Regions from separate parts of the Homo sapiens genome. Here region 2 is linked to region 1. The links are contacts of gene promoters, found by promoter capture Hi-C in human tissues and cell types (Jung and others, 2019). All regions are on one chromosome and are shown on one strand. Each heading gives the region's core, a stretch centred on a gene start or on the middle of the fragment in contact. The rest is flanking DNA. Distances are from core to core; before and after follow the strand shown.

Evidence for each region. The method cuts DNA at HindIII sites, captures the fragments that hold promoters and counts their contacts. A contact is called where the count stands out against the background at its distance.
Region 2: a fragment that was not itself captured here is called in contact with the fragment with the promoter of MAP1LC3C in region 1 in 1 of the 25 tissues and cell types used here (aorta).

Annotation. Positions count from the first base shown.
Region 1 is chr1:241,997,450-242,000,636 of GRCh38, forward strand. It overlaps MAP1LC3C (microtubule associated protein 1 light chain 3 gamma), which reads right to left and starts at 1,649. Exons shown (of 4, transcript NM_001004343.3): 1 at 1,502-1,649; 2 at 1,327-1,382; 3 at 1,065-1,171. The coding sequence starts at 1,559. RefSeq lists an enhancer at 1,634-2,159. The HindIII fragment of the contact is 15,931 bases long and covers 1-3,187 here.
Region 2 is chr1:241,819,062-241,822,248 of GRCh38, forward strand. No RefSeq gene overlaps it. Among named protein-coding and RNA genes, the nearest start is that of EXO1, 28 kb to the right of the region's middle. The HindIII fragment of the contact is 3,695 bases long and covers 1-3,187 here.

The sequences.
Region 1 (3,187 bases), core at 399-2,898:
GCCAAGGCTGCAGTGAACTAGGTTCACACCACTGCACTCCAGCCTAGGCGACAGAGCTAAATAAAGCAAAATAAAAAGACACTCATTCATCGTGTGTTCTCAAAAAAACAGGCTGCAACAGCGATGCAGCTTCCAAGCACTTTTCAACCCTGTTGAAAACTTACTCATCGGGTATATTTACTTTACTCCCAAATCATTTTTTACTGAATCCATGTGTCAAGTGATGTCCTTTATGCTTTAAGAATAGCTGCCTGTTCTTTGCTGTACCTCTGGCTTAACCAAGGGAGGAGTGTGTTTGGGGGATGCTTTTCTCTCTCAGTGTTCTGAGCAGGGAACGTTTCCTTTGGGGAGAAGTCCCCACCCCTAGGCACACATACACTTGGAAAAGGTGCTGGTCTCTGCAACGGACGCGCAGACTCGGTTTCACACAAGATCTGAAAGAAAGGATCTCCCGGCCTAGCTTGAGAGCCAAGACTAACTACTTTAGGAAATTCTTAGAAATGTTGGCAGGTCTTTTTTGTTGTTGTCGTTGTCTGAGGGATTCTCCTTACCTGTTTAAAATAGAGTAATTCTTTTTTTTTTTTTTTTTTTTTTGAGACAGAGTTTCACTCTTGTTGCCCAGGAGTGCAGTGGAACAGTCTCGGCTCACTGTAACCTCCGCCTCCCAGGTTCAAGCGATTCTCCTGCCTCAGCCTCCCAAGTAGCTAGGATTACAGGCACCCGCCACCACGCCTAGCTAATTTTTGTATTTTTAGTAGAGACAGGGTTTCACCACGTTGGCCAGGCTGGTCTCAAACTCCTGACCTCTGCGATCCACCTGCCTCAGCCTCCCAGAGTGCTGGGATTACAGGCATGAGCCACTCCGCCCGGGGTTTAAAATAGAGTAATTCTAAGAGCATCTTTTCAGGGTACTAGTGAATCTAAAAGGTGACTTCAAAAAAATCTCTTTCCTCTCTTCCCCTGACGTGCCCCCATCCCCAAAATAAAACTGCCAAACGAAGAAAGCCCAACAGCCCCGGCGCACCCAGCGCACCTTCCTCCGGGGCACGCTCTGCGCCACCTACCGGATGATGCTGAGGAACTGGGTCATGGTCAGCTCCTGCGGGACCAGGAACTTGGTTTTGTCCAGCGGGGGCAGGAACGTCTCCCTGGGGTAGCGCTCCACTACCACCTGTCAAGAGTGTCAGTCCTTAAGAATGTGACTCAGCGTGAGTGTTAGGAACTTGGAACAGACAGAGGGAAGCTGTTGGCTGCTCTTGGTTTTTCAGAGAACAGGATCGGAACCCCACCCCCACGCCCCCCAGCGGAAGTCCAGTGGTGTCTTACCGGGATTTTGTTGGGGAACTTTGCCCGGATTCCAGCAACTTCCTCTTGTCTGATTGCTGTGAATATTTCAAGCACAAGAGAAGAAGCAAAGATCAAGAAAAGAAGCAAAGATCAAGAGAAGGCCAGATCCGCTCCTCTCTTTAGATAACCCAGAAAGCTACCCCAAGAAATTTACCCAAGCTTTTCCTCTGCTTGAAGGGTCTGACGCTTGGGATTTTCTGTGGAGGCGGCATTGCACTCAGTAGCTGTGTCTGTTTTAAAAAAGAAAAAAAAACTGTCCCGCAACCGGGAACCTAACTCATTCCTCCAGCTGCTTCCAAACTGCCTGCAGGAGCCTGAAGGAGGCCCTTATGTAGGGCTGAGTGACATCAGGCCTCTCCTCTCCCTCCCCTCTCCCCACTCCCCCTCCCTGGGCAGCAGGAGGTCAGTTCTGATGGAAATGGAATCGCCACCTGCTTGCTGGTCAGAGAAAGCCACTTTGTTCATGACCAGTTCAAGATGTTTCTTTGCAAAAGAAATTAGGGTTTGTAATAAAATCATTGGCTGGGCAGCGGACTGTGGAGAGGTAAAACTGCCTTGTGCTGGGATGTTTTTGCCCTTCAGTAGCAAGGGGGGGTCCAAGCTGGATCCACCTCAGCCTGAAGTGTGCTGTGTAGTTCTCACAATGGTCCATGCCCTTTATCACAGAAGGAAACCTATACTAAGAAAGGTGAAGTGATTTGCTCGAGGGCACACAGCAAGTAAGAGAAGCGGTATGGATTAAAACCTAGAGCTGTACACTGGGTGCAGTGGCCCACGCCTGTAATCCCAGCACGTGGGAGGCCGAGGCGGGTGGATCACCTGGCCAACATGCTGAAACCCCATCTCTACTAAAAATACAAAAATTAGCCGGACGTGGTGGCTGGCACCTGTAATCCCACCTACTCAGGAGGCTGAGGCAAGAGAATCGCTTGAACCCAGGATGCGGAGGTTGTAGTGAGCTCAGGTCACACCATTGCACTCCAGCCTCGGCAACAAGAGCGAAACTTCATCTCAAAACAAAACAAAACAAAACAAAAAAAACCCAGAGTTGTTACAAGGAAGTCCAAGTACTACACTCCAGTATATTCTGTCACTTAGTTTTCTCTGGGATAAAAGAAGGAAGGAAGGACAATTGTCCCCAAGATCTTGCTTTTAGAGTTAAGAAACTGGGTCTCTGGTCATACATAGGGGAAACCAAACTCCATTTCTCCTATATTCTCACAACACAGATCACTTTTGACACTAGATGTGTGTGTGTGTGTGTGGGTGGGTGGGGGTTCCCCATACACCGAGCAATCACTTCTACAGTGGACACCAGCTAGGTGTCCTCCAATCCAACTCTGACACTGTCTACCTGGAGACAGCATCAGATCGGGCTGAGGGCTCTGTCCCACAAGACTGTCCCCCACTTTCAATGCCGATTGCAAGCCCCAAGTTGTGTTTGTTGTTTTTTTGCTTGTTTGAAACAGAGTCTTGCTCTGTTGCCCAGGCTGGAATGTAGTGGCACGATCTCAGCTCACTGCAATCTCTGCCTCCTGAGTTCAAGCGATTTCTCCCGAGTAGCTGGGATTACAGGCACATGACACCATGCCTGGCTAATTTGTGTGTTTTTAGTAGAGAGGGGGTTTCGCCATGTTGGCTAGGCTGGTCTGAAACTCCTGACCTTGTGATCCTCCTGCCTTGGCCTCCCAAAGAGCTGGGATCTCATGCGTGAGCCACTGCGCCCAGCCCCTAGCTTGTTTTCCCTGTGCTTCTGATCTATGGGACATAAGTCAGGCTTCCCACAGCCCCCGCCTTGGGTTTCATTAATTGGCTAGAATGACTCACAGAACTCAGGGAA
Region 2 (3,187 bases), core at 223-2,722, 180 kb before region 1:
AAACTACATGAAACAATAGAAACATATATAACAGGTAACTGTAAATTTGACGAACAAATAATGCAACCATAACTTCTCCATGACATATTAGTACACAGACAAATCATCTTGTGAAAGATGATGTGTTAATACTTATCTTGATCAAAGAAGCATATTAGGCTCTACTGAAACCGAGAGGAAATATTCCTTGCTGTTATATTCTGGTCTCTGGTTGGCAGATTATTAGTGTTCAAGGAGAAGGGTTGTAGAGGTGGTCCCACGTGGACTACGGTTTTATTGCACGATCTGTGAGGTGAGTTCCAAGCCTAAGGCTCTATGACATGGCAGACCTTGAGGTCTGAATTTGGACCTCACTCGACCTCCCTGACCATAAAAGAAAAGCCGATGACAGACATCTCATGGATAACTGAGAATGTGCTCTTTGTCAGCAAAAAAATCACCTGTTGAAATGACTAGTCAGACACCCTGTCAGGATACAGTCAAGACAAGAGGGCCTCAGTCACAATGCATGTGAATGGTGTCTGCAGTAAGCACAGTTCTCATCAATCAAATAAATGGATGTTCCTATTTATAAAGCTGTTCAGTATTATTCCAGCCTGTTAAGTCTTCCAGTATCAAATCAATCATGTCATTCCTGAATCCAGATATTCAACCCTACCTATATGTTAAGAAAATAATCTTCCACAGTGGCATTTGAGGGGTTCCTCCACCAGACTGCTACCTGAAAAATTATCCCTGAATAGCACCCTACTGGATCATCCAATGAAAACGCTGTTTCTGGATGCCTAAGTGTTGAAATTGATACATGCCTTTACATAGAACCTTCATCCCTGTCCTGTGAACACATACAGAAGGATTAGTTTGTCAGACTATCTGATACTTCAAAAGGCTGAAAAGAAAGGATAAGGCACAGTAAAGTTAGGTGAGAGAATGGAGTGGGAAAGTAAGTGAAGTGTGTGTGTGTGTGTGTGTGTGTGTGTGTGTGTGTGTTGAGGAAAGAGCTGAAAAAGAAAACACAGAAAGAACAGAGCAGAATAATTTATAAGCTCTTGGGAGCAATGGTAAGGAAGGAAAAGCTTTGAATTCAGGTCAGATTGCAATTAGCCAAGCTATCTTAGTAAGTAGGGTAGAGAGAATCTGATATCCCATACATTATTTTTATTTGACACTGAAAATATTTATTATATTTTATAGTGGATACACCTTCTGAATTATGTTATAGGTTAACACTGAAGATATGTTTCATCTACTAAACATATAACTGCTGGATAGTTGGGGGAAAATGGCTAGAAGTTTGCTAGGTAGCAGTAGAAAATCTAGCTGGGATTCAAAATATCTCAGGAATAACACATGATACAAATATTGCCTACTTAATCGTGAAATAGACTGCATTTGTATGGCTTGTATTTGTGTACAGGATGACTGTACTTATTTTGGTAAATAGATACTCGTACATTGTGTACACATGTGCTTTTGAGCCCTCTCTTTTCATAGTCTAGAAGTACCATAAAGAAAGGGACCATGTCTAGTGTTTTCTTTATACCTCCTTTAACTATCAGTAGTAATATACTGTGGATGCCCCAAAATGTTAACTTACCTATTTATGAGTTGCTTACATTTATATTTTTCTTAGAGACATCAGTTTTTTTCTCAATGTATAAATAACTAGGTAAGGAATGGGATGGGACATTAATTTTCTCGAGAAATATTGCATGAAAAACTAGAAATACACAGGAAAAAACAAAAAAGATGGTCTCTGCCCTTCAGGTACTTATTGCCTGAGAAAGGAAACAAAGATAGAATCAGATATGGGCAACAACATGTTAGAGGTGCGATGATGGAAGTCAGTACAAGTACCACATGGGCATGGGAAACGTTCCACCTGTAACAAATATATGCCTCTTCTTGCCAGTTACAGGCATCATCTGTATAGGATTCAGAAAGAAAAAAATATTTGTCTTAAGCTGAATGAAAACAATTCTGCAATTTTTATAGGAAATTCACATGACATTAAAAACAGGAAGACAAAAACAACGCATACAGGGTCTGCAAGATTTAGAAATACAGATAGGTAGAGATGAAAGGGATCAACTAAAAGGATTCATGTTTATATAACCAGTCCCAGTCCCCATTTTTCTATTATTAAATAATAGATGATTGCATGTGGTATCTAAGTCAGAATAAACTTTAATTTACAGCTATACCATCTGTACTACTTACTATTTCTATTACGGCAACTTCTTTGAAGAAGGCATTTGATTTTAAAAGGAATGCCATATCTATTTTTAGAATTTTTTTTTTCTACAAAAAAAGGCCATAGACTGGAAGAAAGCACAGAGGCACAGGTGGCTAAATACAATTTTTCAATGAATAGAAATGAGCTAAAAGTCTCTAACATTTCCTTAAAATGTCTTATGATGTCAGAACAAATTGAACGAATAAGTTTATGTATTGCTCATGCATGCACATAATTTATTTGTGGCATAATGACTCAGATGCAGTGTTTGGCTAGTAAATTCCACTTCTGCATTTCTGTTCACTGCCTGTAAATATTATTGTTCTGCCATCCTGACTTAATTATTCCTAGATAAAAAGAGATACACATTTGGAAGAAGGCAAAAACGAAAGATTTTTACAATGTGAAATAAAGGATCTTGATATTAGGCGCATCTTATAGATAGCTGGCCGCATATGGGGAAAATTATATGCTGAAGCAAGAGTTAAAATAAAGGGGTTTATTAATTTTACTACTTTATGTTCTTGTGAAGAGCAGAATGGTAAGGAATACTGCCAGTGGTTATTTGTAAAACTGGATCAGAAATCAGACCAATAGAAAAAATACATGCTTCATACTTACCAGTGCCATGTGACGATTTTATGGTGTCCACAAAACAGTCCAATTGATAGACTCTCTCTTCTGTTCAAATGGCCAGGCCAATTCAAGTGAGAACCAGAATTTGTTTTAGATCTGAGTTTCCAGGACTGTCTCTGGTTCTTCCATAGGTTTTTCTAGAGGGGACTGACCAAGTGGATCTACTCTCATCTGAAGACCATACTAGCCACCCACACTTACTTCAAGTGGTGCTGAATCCTCAAGGAAATTCCCTGACCTCTCAATCCTCACCATCCACAGAGCTAAATCAGACTTTCTTTGTGGTAAAGAACACAAGGTCTAGAATTAGCCTCT